3 separate regions of the Homo sapiens genome follow, and regions 1 and 2 are each linked to region 3. The links are contacts of gene promoters, found by promoter capture Hi-C in human tissues and cell types (Jung and others, 2019). All regions are on one chromosome and are shown on one strand. The core of a region is centred on a gene start or on the middle of the fragment in contact, and the rest is flanking DNA. Distances in the headings are between cores, read along the strand shown.

Evidence for each region. Contacts are between HindIII fragments. The study calls those that stand out against the background at their distance.
Region 1: the fragment with the promoter of CLPX here is called in contact with the fragment with the promoter of TRIP4 in region 3 in 1 of the 25 tissues and cell types used here (dorsolateral prefrontal cortex).
Region 2: a fragment that was not itself captured here is called in contact with the fragment with the promoter of TRIP4 in region 3 in 1 of the 25 tissues and cell types used here (aorta).

What each region holds. Positions count from the first base shown.
Region 1 is chr15:65,183,310-65,187,681 of GRCh38, reverse strand. CLPX (caseinolytic mitochondrial matrix peptidase chaperone subunit X) reads left to right here and starts at 2,340. Exons shown (of 14, transcript NM_006660.5): 1 at 2,340-2,607. The coding sequence starts at 2,529. RefSeq lists a silencer at 2,092-2,401 and an enhancer at 1,823-2,707. The HindIII fragment of the contact is 6,593 bases long and covers 862-4,372 here.
Region 2 is chr15:64,969,260-64,973,555 of GRCh38, reverse strand. It overlaps SPG21 (SPG21 abhydrolase domain containing, maspardin), which reads left to right. Exons shown (of 9, transcript NM_016630.7): 6 at 3,334-3,442; 7 at 4,194-4,296. Among named protein-coding and RNA genes, the nearest start is that of SPG21, 19 kb to the left of the region's middle. The HindIII fragment of the contact is 8,694 bases long and covers 1-4,296 here.
Region 3 is chr15:64,385,744-64,389,895 of GRCh38, reverse strand. It overlaps TRIP4 (thyroid hormone receptor interactor 4), which reads right to left and starts at 2,060. Exons shown (of 13, transcript NM_016213.5): 1 at 1,932-2,060. The coding sequence starts at 2,032. It also overlaps a transcript of PCLAF not described here. RefSeq lists enhancers at 1,344-1,844, 1,774-2,263, 1,845-2,345. The HindIII fragment of the contact is 11,205 bases long and covers 1-4,152 here.

The DNA of each region.
Region 1 (4,372 bases), core at 1,091-3,590, 800 kb before region 3:
GTTAAAAAAGAAAAGCTTGAGAAATACAGTTTTAAAGCCAGAAGACTCCAGCTCTATTCTCTGTTTTTCACTTGTTATGTGACCCTGGTCAAGTATCTGCCTTTTCAATAGGCCTGTTTCCTCATCTAAAAAAATCAGGGTTAATATTGAGTGAGTTAAGACTCATGGACTCTAATTTATTAAAATATTTCTTATAGCAACTCATAATGCTGGGAGGTAAAATCAAGTATAAAAGAAAAAGAGGGCCTGCATGGTGGCTCACACCTGTAATCCCAACACTTTGGGAGGCCAAGGCAGGCGGATCATGAGGTCAATAGATCAAAACCATCCTGGCCAACATGGTGAAACCCCGTCTCTACTAAAAATACAAAAACTAGCTGGGCGTGGTGGTGTGCGCCTGTAGTCCCAGCTACTCAGGAGGCTGAGGTAGGAGAATCGCTTGAACCGAGGAGCCAGAGGTTACAGTGAGCCAGGATCGCACCACTGCGCTCCAGCCTGGCCACAGAGTGAGACTCCATCTCAAAAAAAAAAAAAAAAAAAAGACAAAAGAAAAAGTTTTACATAAAATGAAGACATAAAAAGTTATGTGCCTGACTGGGTGCAATGGCTCATGCCTGTAATCCCAGCACTTTGGGAGGCTGAGGCAGGCGGATCACTTGAGGTCAGGGGTTTGAAACTAACACGGCCAACATAGTGAAACTCTGCCTCTACTAAAAATACAAAAATTAACCGGGCATGGTGACGCATGCCTGTAATCCCAGCTACTCAGGAGGCTGAGGCAGGAGAATCACTTGAACCCAGGAGGCAGAGGTTGCAGTGAGCTGAGATGGTGCCACTGCACTTCAGCCTGGGTGACAGATGGAGACTCTGTCTCAAAAAAAAAGTTATGTGCCTTCAGCTATGTAGTTCGCAAAAAGTAAATAACTCAAGGAGTTAACTCCTCCAGTGTAAACTATTTGAGCTGGAAAACTGCACTTGACTTTCTTTTTAAAGCGTCATTAATCTGTCAGAAAACAGCTGAAAGTAGGTGTGATGTGGAAGGGCTGATGTGACCACAAGTATTTGCCATCACTTTCCTGGTGAAGGATCCATTTTCTCACAGGGATAATCTCAGATGGCTCTGGGTTTTTTTTTTTTTTTTTTGAGACGGAGTCTCGCTCTGTCGCCCAGGCTGGAGTGCAATGGCACGATATCGGCTCACTGCAACCTTCGCCTCCTGGGTTCAAGCAATTCTCCCACCTCAGCCTCCTGAGTAGCTGGGATTACAGGAGTACGCCACCACACCTACCTAATTTTTGTATTTTTAGTAGAGATGGGGTTTCACCATGTGGGTCAGGCTGGTCGCAAACTCCTGACCTCGTGATCCACCTGCCTCGGCCTCCCAAAGTGCTGGGATTACAGGTGTGAGCCACCACGCCCAGCCGGCTCTGTGCTTTTGAATTCATAACTTGAGAGGATGGCCTGATAGGAACCTGACCAGAGGTTATCTATGCAGTGCCATCCTTAATCACGGCCGGGTGCGGTGGCTCACGCCTGTAATCCCAGCACTTTGGGAGGGCGAGGCGAGAGGATCACTTGAGCCCAGGAGTTTGAGACCAGCCTGGGCAACATAGGGAGACCTCATCTTTACTAAATTAAAAAAAAGAAAGAAAGAAAAGAAAACCCTCAAGACTTTAAAGCACCCACGGACTAGCAACAGCTAGAAGCTTTATCACCACGAGGCCTGAAAGAACAAGGAGACGGAGCTGTTACCAACTAACAATTGCTGCTCAGGGAACTAACTGACAATACCAACTCCATGTTACAAGTGATGAAACTAAGGAGAATGAGAAGATAAGGAACACAGGATGTGGAATTCCGGGGGAAGAAATTTAGTGAATCTGAAGCATCCAGCGCCTACCAAGGCACTTTAGAGACTTCCCCCTGGAGGGTTAAGCCACCAGCCTCACCTTGACCTTCCCTGCCGCCCACTAAAAGTGACCGGAAGAGCTCGACTATGACGACTCGGGACTACAAGTCCCGGCATGCATCTCTCCGCGTCTATCGCAAAACCTTTCAACTTTAGGATAAAAGGGCTTTTGGCAACCTTGAGCGTCGGGACCTGTAGTCGCCCCAGTTGGGGCTAGACGCTTGCCGTAGGGAACTCATTGGCGCCCAGGGCACCACCCCCTCGCCTTCGCCTCACGTAGCTTCACCAGCTCGCAAACACGGCGCGTGCCCACGCCCTCCGCCCCCTCCCCGGGCCTAGGGCGCAGGCGCGCGCAAGCTCCCCGGGCCCAGTAGGCTGGGGGTGGGGGTAGAAGGAGAAGGAGGGGAAGGGAGGGGGGGGTTGGGTGTCTACTCTGGTGAATAGACGGCTGTGGGGCAGAGAAGCGTGAAGGCCTGGCTGCCGGGCAGGTGAACTCTCCACGGGGTCTAGGGCCCGCGAAAGGGTTCGGAACCGAGTCAGCGCGCCTTGCGGGCAGGATTCACGCCGCTGTGACCCGGAGGTCCTCAGGGGGCGAAGCCCCGGCCTAGGCCTCGCGGAGATGCCCAGCTGCGGTGCTTGTACTTGCGGCGCGGCGGCCGTCCGGCTCATCACCTCCTCACTCGCCTCCGCGCAGAGAGGTAACGAAATAGTGCCACTCCTGAGCCCTCAGCCTGTCGGGGGGGGGGTGGACTGGCCAATGGTTGGGGGCCCCGGGGAGGGCACGAGGCCTGCTGCACCCGGGGAGTGTGAGGGAATGCGCGGCGCTTCGCCCGGCACCCACCACTTTCCCCGTGGAATGGGGCTCTGCCAACCTCTGGAGCAGCCGTTGCTCAAATTGGAAGTAAACTCCTTCCCACGCGCCTGCCTGCACGCTTTCAGGCCTGCTGACTTTGGGGCCGGAATGCGGCCACTTTGTAGAAACCCTGAAAGGCACAAAATGCTCCTGTTATTAAAAAATGTCTCCAGATCCCACTCAGCCCTGCCGGGGACCGCCGCCTGCCATGGCTGCGGCTCTTCTTCCGCAGCCTGGCCGGGATCCCCCTCGGGCCCGTTGGGGGCTCCAGGAGGGGCTCGGCTGAGGATCTGTCCCTACTAGGGTCCCCCAGGACTCGGGGCACCCAGCTGGCCGTCCCGGACGCAAGCCGCGCGATACCCGAGATGTTACTATCACTGTGCGGCCCTGACACTGGGACATAAACAAGGTTCACAATACTTCCCGGCGTCAGGCAAGCCCCGGGGCCCGCAGGACAGCGGCGGGAGAGATGGGGAGAAGTCCCGCAGGAGTTGGTTCGGAAGTACTTGGGTGTTTCAGCAGTCCTTTGCTGGCTTTCCCAACTTGACCGGGAGGTAGTTTCCTAAGAGTGGCGCATGTTGTTTACCTTTTCTTTCTGTTTATCTGAAGCTGTGAAAGAATGGCGCCCCAGCCAAGAGAGTCTGGAAAATAAACTTTTTTTCTCTTCCTCAAATCTGTGGAAGTCAGACCACGAGGCTAGATCCTGTTATAATGACTGACTTCTAGACAAATTCGTTTTATTTTGGCTTATCGGTTTATGACCCTTGGATGGATTTTTAAAAAGGCCCCTTTTATCTAACTTCTAAGCCAATTATAAAATCCTTATTGTTTACTAAATATATCTTCCAGTTTCTTTACTACAGAAGGAAGGATTGAATGAGGTAACGTGGGCAGAAGCATTTTGTAAAATGATATATAAATGTAAGGGAGTAAATTTAATCCTAAATCGATGTTAAGCCTCAACCAGTAGATGTCCCGATTCCAGGAATTCGATTTGCAAACACTTTAAAGTGACATATTTTAATCCATTTATCTGATATATATTAATATTTGTCAAGGGTCCACTGTGTGTCAGGCCTTCTTTTAGTGCTGGAGGTAGAGTGGTGAATAAGTCCTCACCCTCATGTTTAAATCTAGTGGAGTAGACAAAGAATAATACAGTTTCCAGTGGGTGGATGAAGTATGTGTGTGTTCCCTTTGGTCAGGGACGGCTTCTTTGAAAGTGTTACTGATCTCTTGTAGCCAAGAGTCCGTGAACATTTTTGAATCATAGGAGATAGGCAGTTATTTTTTTTTCTTTTCAAAACGACTGTTTTCTTTCTTTTTCTTTTCTTTTCTCCTTCCTTCCTTCCTTCCTTTCCTTCCTTCCTGTCTTTCTTTCCTTTCTGTCTTTCTTTCCATCTACTATCTGTCTTTCTGTCTGTCTTATTTTCTTTCTTTTTTTTTTTTTTTTTTTTTTGAGACAGAGTCTCGCTCTGTCGCTCAGGCTGGAGTGCAGTGGCCAGATCTCAGTTTACTGCAAACTCCGCCTCCTGGGTTCACGCCATTCTCCTGCCTCAGCCTCCCGAGTAGCTGGGACTGCAGGCGCCCGCCACCACGCCTGGCTAATT
Region 2 (4,296 bases), core at 348-2,847, 580 kb before region 3:
CACTTGAACCCAGGATGCGGAGGTTGTGGTGAGCCGAGATCACGCCATTGCACTCCAGCCTAGGCAACAGGAGCGAAACTCCATCTCAAAAAAAAAACAAACCAAAAACAAAATGGTGGAAATGCTTTGGGTGCAGCCAGTGGGGTACTTGTTTCCTAGGAGCCATCCTTTCATTGATTTTATCATTTTAAGTAATTGGTAGGTATCTATGATGCCATACAGCTGGCTTACTGTGCACTTCTTTCATTGCTGGCAAGGCGAGGCTCTAGCCTTAAAATAAAGCCCAGTGGCCAGGTGTGATGGCTCATGCCGTACTCCCAACACTTTGGGAGGCCAAGACAGGAGGATCACTTCAGGCCAAGAGTTTGAAACCAGCCTGAGCAACATAGTGAGACCCCATCTCTACAAATAACAATAATAATAAATTAGCCAGGTATCATGGTATGCACCTGCAGTCCTAGCTACTCAGGAGGCTGAGGCAGGAGGATCGCTTGAGCCCAAGAGTTCAAGGCTGCAGTGAGCCACAACTGTGCCTCTGTACTCCAGGCTGGGTGACAGAGCAAGACCCTACTTCAAAAAAAAAGCCCAGTGAGTAAACACATCTGTATGATCAGTGTTTTCAAATAATGTATAGGGAAATATCGTTTTCACATCTACTTAAAATTGCACTCTGATATTTTTTAGTTTTTTTTGTTGTTGTTTGTTTTTTTGTTTGTTTGTTTTTGAGATGGAGTCTCGCTCTGTCGCCCAGGCTGGAGTGCAGTGGCACGATCTCAGCTCACTGCAAGCTCTGCCTCCCAGGTTCACGCCATTCTCCTGCCTCAGCCTCCCGAATAGCTGGGACTACAGGCGCCCGCCACCATGCCTGGCTAATTTTTTATGTTTTTAGTAGAGACGGGGTTTCACCGTGTTCACCAGTATGGTCTCGATCTCCTGACCTCGTGATCCGCCCGCCTCAGCCTCCCAAAGTGCTGGGATTACAGGCATGAGCCACTGTGCCCAGCTATTTTTTAGTTTTTCTGATGTTATCTTAGTAATTACTCAGCATTCATGCAACAATTTCTTGTATACATTAGCTACTTTACAAATCCTTCCCGTCCAGATAATGCACTAAATAATGCTCATTATTTTTGGTGATTTTTATTGCTGTTCTAATTGTTAGAATGCCAAGACAGCCCCCATTCAGTTTGTGCTCTGGCACATCAGCTGCTTATTGTCAAATATCTGAGTGCTTACTGTGTGCCACACACTGAGGATCCAGGAGTGAGCAAAGTCAACAGGGTCCACCCCTTACAGAGCGTACTTAGACCTCATCACCTTCAAAAGATAAGAAAGTGATGGGGCTGGGAGAGAACTTAGAAAGTTAACTGGAAGGTGACCTAGTGGTCCTTTTGAGGGAAGCTCAACTTCCAGCAAGGCTGTCCCAGTGGTAATAAGCATCAGAAGGTAGTTTGCACCTCATCTAAGTAATTTTCGTCATAGGTTTACAGAAATTAGTGTTTGCCCTCCATGATGGCTCTTAACAGTTGAAATTAATGGAATAAATATAAACTAAAGATCATATATAGAAATCCGTAAAGATCTGACCAGTCACAGTGGCTCACACCTGTAATCCCAGCACTTTGGGAGGCAGAGGTAAGAGCATTGCTTGAGTCCAGGAGTTCTAGACCAGCCTGGGCAACAGAGCAAGATCCTGTCTCTACAGAAAAAAAATTTTCTTTTTTGAGATGGGAGTCTCGCTCTGTTGCCCAGGCTGGAGTGCAGTGGCACGTTCTCACTGCAGCCTCTGCCCCCCAGGTTCAAGTGATTCTCCTGCCTCAGCCTCCCAAGTAGCTGGGATTACAGGCGCTGGCCACCGCCCCTGGCTAATTTTTGTATTTTTAGTAGAGACGGGGTTTCACCATCTTGGCCAGGCTGGTCTTGAACTCCTGACCTTGTGATCACCCACCTTGGCCTCCCAAAGTTCTGGATTACAGGCATGAGCCATTGCGCCTGGCTCAGTAAATTTTTTTTTTTGGAGACGGAGTCTGGCTCTGTCGCCCAGGCTGGAGTGCCATGGCACGATCTTGGCTCACTGCAAGCTCCATCTCCTGGGTTCACGCCATTCTCCTGCCTCAGCCTCCCGAGTAGCTGGGACTACAGGCGCCCGCCACCAAGCCCGGCTAATTTTTAGTATTTTTAGTGGAGACGGGGTTTCACCGTGTTAGCCAGGATGGTCTCAATCTCCTGACCTCGTGATCTGCCCACCTTGGCCTCCCAAAGTGCTGGGATTACAGGCATGAGCCACCGTGCCTGGCCCCGGCTCCCCCAGCTCAGTAAATTTTTAAAAAATTAGTCAGGCCTGGTGGTACGAGCCCGTAGTCCCAGCTACTCGGGAGGCCAAGGTAGAAGGATCACTTGATAGGAGTTTGAGGCTACAGTGAGCTATGATCACAATACTGCACTTCAGCCTGGGCAACAGAGTGAGACCCTGTCTCTAAAAGTTTTTTTTTAAATTTTTTAATTAAAAAATAAAAAGAGGCCAGGAGTGGCTCACGCCTGTGATCCCAGCACTGTGGGAGGCTGAGGTGGGTGGATCACTTGAGGCCAGGAGTTCACCACCAGTCTGGCCAACATTGCAAAAGCTCATCTTTACTAAAAATACAGAAGTTAGCCGGGCGTGGTGGCATGTGCCTGTAGTCGCAGCTACTCGAAAGGCTGAGGCATGAGAATTGCTTGAGCCCGGGAGGCAGAGGTTGCACCCAGCCGAGATCATGCCACTGTACTTCCAGCATGGGTAACTGACTGAGACTCTGTCTCAAAAAATAATAACAATAATAAATTTAAAAAATAAATCTATAAATATCAATTTGCCTTGAATTAGCCAAGTTGAATCTAATAGTAGCAAATTTGGGGAGGTGCAATAGCTTTCATATTGGTATTTTGAAATCTGTTTTGAAATATCAATCGATAAAAACATAATATCAACCAGAAGGAAAGAATACTTCTCTTAATATTCAGTTTTCCAAAAGAAATAGTTTAATCCTTGGAAATAGGGCCAATTAGAGAAAAAAAACAATCTTGGACTCATCAGAATGTCTATCTCAGTAAAGGTATTTTGAAATATCTCTTATAATTATCCTAAATCCTCAAATAAAAGTTTAATTATATGAAGCCATAACTCTTTGGAAGCTTGGGAAAGTGTGTGTAAAAACTAGATGCTGAGCTCTTTGGAGGAGGGGATTAGGACTTTTTATTTCTAGATCCCAAGCTAATACAAAGCTTTAATGTTGAATGAATATTTGCCATGTGTAGTCTTGGAAGTTTAAATTATAAGGTCTTTGTGTTTTACAGCTTTTGGCTGATGCCTGCATTTATGCTCAAAAAAATAGTTCTTGGAAATTTTTCATCTGGCCCGGTGGACCCTATGATGGCTGATGCCATTGATTTCATGGTAGACAGGGTAAGGATCATGACATTGGGTTGGGGACACATTGTATTGGGAATTTTCACATCTACTTGGTTCCAGAAGATAGATCTGTCTCACAAGTATGTGTAAGAGGTATTTGCTAAGCAGAGTAATACATCTGAGCAGATATTATTGCTGGTAAGGGCTTGCCTACATCAGTGCTTCCCACCAGCTATTCATCAAAATCACTTAGGGGAGCTTTCAAAAATACAGATTGTAAGGCCTCACAGCAGATCATCCATCTGGAATCCCTGGGCATGGGATCTGGGAATCTATTTTTACTTCACACTTTTCCTCTACCCACCAGGTAAATCTGATGAACCAGGTCTGTTGGCTTGCATTTAGGAACTGCTGGGCTAGATGATTTCTCAAATCTCTTTTAAGATCCCTTAAAGGTTTATCTTAAAAAAAAAAAAAAAACAAAAACATATATCTGTCACCTTTGAGCAGTAGGAATTGGCTTGCTGCCCATGGGCACCTGGCTGGAGTAGGCAGTGTAGGCTGAGGGCTGTAGAAGGCCGGGTTTCATTGGTTTGTACCCAGGTTTCCAGAATAGAAAAATGCCACAACCTCCTGAGAAGCCCAGTTCATGGTCTCTCACCTAAGTTGTGGTTCCTCACTGATGACTTTTCTGGCCCCACCACAGATGATACCACCTTTATAAGCACAAATGTTGTCTGTGGATTTAATGTAAATGTGAAAAACAAAATTATTTCAAAAACTTTACCTGTGTTTCTTCCTGCAGCTAGAAAGTTTGGGTCAGAGTGAACTGGCTTCAAGACTTACCTTGAATTGTCAAAATTCTTATGTGGAACCTCATAAAATTCGGGACATACCTGTAACTATTA
Region 3 (4,152 bases), core at 811-3,310:
ACCCCATCTCTAGTAAGAATACAAAAATTAGCCAGGCATGGTGGTGCGCGCCTGTAATCCCAGCTGCTCGGGCTGAGGAAAGAGAATCGCTTGAACGTGGGAGGCGGAGGTTGCAGCGAGCTGAGATCGCACCACTGCACTCCAGCCTGGGCAACAGAATCTGTCTCAAAAAAAAAAAAAAAAAAAAGTGAAAATTTTGAACTTATATTCGTAAAAAACACTTTTCTGTTTTATATATTGCAAAGTTTCATTATTTCATTTGATAGCATTCCACTGCTTTAAAAAATGTTTGAAAACTACTAAATACTTAATCTGACTGCGTTCAAGCAAGGGTAAAGCCAAACCATAAGATTTCGCTGTTTTGTTTTGTTGTCTATTCTAGTGTTAAAAAAAATCCTTTATCTTGTTGTTTACTTTTTTTATTTCTGTAGAGACAGGGTCTCACTATGTTGCCCAGGGTGGTCTCCAACTCCCAGTCTCAAGCAATCCTCCCACCTCTACCTCCCAAAGTGCTGGGAATAAGGGCTTGAGCCATCTCCTAGGGCCTCAAAAAAATCCATTAAAATAACCTACTTGAACTGTCTCCTTGCCAAAAGTCTATTTTCTCCGAAACTCAGAAACTCATCTTACTTCCTACAAAAGCCCTAGAACAGCAATTTAGGTTTCAACATCAGTGACCAAGGAATCAAATGAAGGAACACTTTCAGTTCTTCGATCAAGTCCCATTTTTGTAGTTTTCTCCCCTGCCTGAACACTTTGGACCGCCACCTCTGTCTATTCCTTAGTTCTCGGGTGAAAGTTATCCTTTCCAATAAACCTTCCGAGTTTTTCAAATCTTAATGAGAATCCTTTATTTTGTGCTCCAACAAGCCCCTTCATTTCCCCAACCTCAGCACTCATCAACGAAGGGGAACCCAACTGTCTTGTCTTTGTTACCCCAGCACCTGGCGTGTAACAGCAGCGCAACAAATGTTCTTCAATCAGTTGAAAGTAGATATTAAGTCATGTACACCATCTCCATTTCATAGGAGTCATAAAGCATGATAAGCTCTACTAATGATTAATCTTATAAATGAAGAAACCAGGGTACAGAGAGAAAAATTAAGTTGTCCTGGGTTCTAAAACAGGTAAACGACAACAGAATATAGAACCTGAGACTCCAGAGTCAGAAGCTATTTGTACTCTACCACGCTGCTTCCACTTAAATTCTAGGTCCTATTGACACAGCTGACCCTGTTGGCTCTACTGACACAACTCAGATTGGGCCGACTAAAATGTTCAGAGTATATCTGGGTGCGGTGGCTCATGCCTGTAATCCCAGCACTTTGGGAGGTCGAGGCGGGCGGATCACTTGAGATCAGGAGCTGGAGACTAGCCTGGCCAACATGGTGAAACACTGACTCTACTAAAAATTTTTAAAAATTAGCCGGGTGTGGTGGTGCGTGCCTGTAATCCCAGCTACTTGGGAGGCTCAGGCAGGTGAATCACCTGAACCCGGAAGGCGGAGGTTGCAGTGAGCCAAGATCGCGCCACCGCACGCCAGCCTGGGCGACAGAGACTCCGTCTCAATAATAACAACAATAATAATAAATAAATAAAAGAGTAAGGGGTTCAAAGTTAGGAAATACAGTTTGACCTGCCCCTTCTCTCTAGAAAGGAAACTGGCTCCTGGGACAGCCTTGCATTTCTAATTATTACAGATTGGGCGTCTTCCCAGGAAAAAAGCCCGACCGGCAGACTGTGGAGCCGGACACCCTATTCCAGAAACTAAACTACAAAGGTGGAGGCCAAAATTCGACGCCTACAGACTACAGACTGCAGCCCCTTTATCACATTTCTCTCTTAACTTTTCAGTCCTCCCCGCTTCCCGGTTCGCTCAGGCAGTGCACATCCCAGAGCTCCTTCCCCGCTTGGACCCGAACTGTTCTCACTGAATGATCTCCTCGCTGACATCCAGGCCGAAAGTCTTCCGCAACTGCTGGGTGCACCAGTGCACCAGCGGCTCCCCGGACACCGCCCCAGCCACCGCCATCTTCCCCAGCCGGAACCAGCTGAGCTGCAAAAGCCCCACGTCCTGCACCGGACTAGTTCCCTTCGCAACACCAACCTCTCTCACGCGGGTTCCGCCAGCTTGCACCGCCCCGCAAGGTCGCACCGCCTCCAGTGCAGATCCCGCCCATCTGTGCGCCTCCTGCTTCTTCCTGCTTTGTTGTCTACTTCCTTGTGCCCTCCGGAGTCGAGCTCTGTCAGTGCATGATTCTTGCCAATCGCTAAACGTAGGACTCGAGGAAGGCCATTGGCAATTCTGCTAAGAAGACAGTGCAAGTGCCTATAAAAACGACAGTTTAGGGGGAAAACAAACCAATACCCGGAAAGCTGAGAGGCCAGCTTTTTAATCGTCATGGTTTTATGTAAAATAAAACAGCACGTGGAAGGTATTGTAAGCGCTGTAAGTTTTTGCTCTGGTGGTGGTTTTAATTTTTTAATTAATTAATTAATTTATTTATTTATTTTGAGACGGAGTCTCGCACTGTCGCCCAGGCTTGAGTGCAGTGGCATGATCTCGGCTCACTGCAAGCTCCGCCTCCCGGGTTCATGCCATTCTCCTGCCTCAGCCTCCCAAGTAGCTGGGACTACAGGCACCCGCCACCACGCCCGGCTAATTTTTTTTGTATTTTTAGTAGCGACGCGGTTTCACGTGTTAACCGGGATGGAGTGTTTATTTTTAATACCCCCTGTAGTCGACTACTAGATTCACACCGCTAAAACTTCTATTTTATTTTTTGAGCCATGTATTTTCCAGGAGAGCCAAGACAACTCAGCAAGCTCGAGGGTAAAAAACAGTAAAACAGGAGTTGGAATTTGGCTTTGAGGACTTTCCACATGAGTTCTCAACCAAAAATGACAGTATTTAAGGGCTGTCTGCAATTCCCTACCCCGCTAAGACAATGGGCTGGGGAAAATTTAGCCAAACTTTTCTGGAGATCATAATGTCTTCCCATTCATTTCTGGCTTTTTGTTGCATTTGCAGGTTAAAAGTTCTTCATTTCTACTAGCCTGTTTAGACTAAGTGGTCACATTAAATTGGCAGCTGTTTTACCTTTTTGCTAGTGTTTTCATTGGCATAAATATTATAATTAAAATCATGAGTGTATTGGCCGGGCGCAGTGTCTCATGCCTGTAATCCCAGCGCTTTGGGAGGCCGAGGCGGGAGGATCACCCGAGCGCACACGGAGACACACACACAAACACACACACACACACACACACACACACTGGGCGTGGTGGCTCATGCCTGTAATGCCAGCACTTTGGGAATCAGAGGCAAGAGGATCACTTGAGCCCAGGAGTTCCGGACCAGTCTGGGCAGCATAAGGAGAATCCTCATCTCTACAAAAATGAAAAAAATTAGCCTGGCATGGTGGCACATGCCTGTAGTCTCAGCTACTTGAAAGGCTGAGGTGGGAGGATCACTTGGGCCTGGAAGGTCAAGCTTGAAGTGAGCCCTGATTGCACTACTGCACTCCAGCCTGGGCGACAGAGCAAGGCCTTTTTACAAAAACAAAACAAAACCTCATAAGTGTATTGATTTACATTCCATTTAGATTGTCGTAGATATCATTAATTTGGAAAGCAGATGATTTTCCAGGGTTTTTTTTTTTAAGAAAAAGTCAAAATACTCTGTGAATGTTTATTAATTGTGGGTACAAGTTTTGTTTCTTTGTAAAACTCCACTACATTTAATAATAATTGTAAGGTATCAAAGTCATTTACCTGTTTATTTATTCAGTCCCTGTGTTAGGGTTCTCCAGAGACAGAACCAATAGGATAGATAACAGATAGATATAGATACAGATCTATGAGGAGATTTATTAGGGAATTGGCTCAGGAAATTATGGAGACTGAAAAGACCCATGACAGGCCATCTGCAAGCAGGAGACCCTGGAATGCTGGTAGCTGGCTCAGTCCAAGTTGTGAAATCTTCAAGTCTCAAGGTGGAGGGCCTGGAGTTCTGATGTCTGGGAGCAGAAGTCTGAGAAGAGTGTCTCAGCTCCAGAAGGAAGAAATATTTTTTCTCACCTTTTTTGTTCTGGGTCCTTGGTTAATTGGATGGTGCCCGCTCACATTGAGAGCAGATCTGCCCCACTCAGT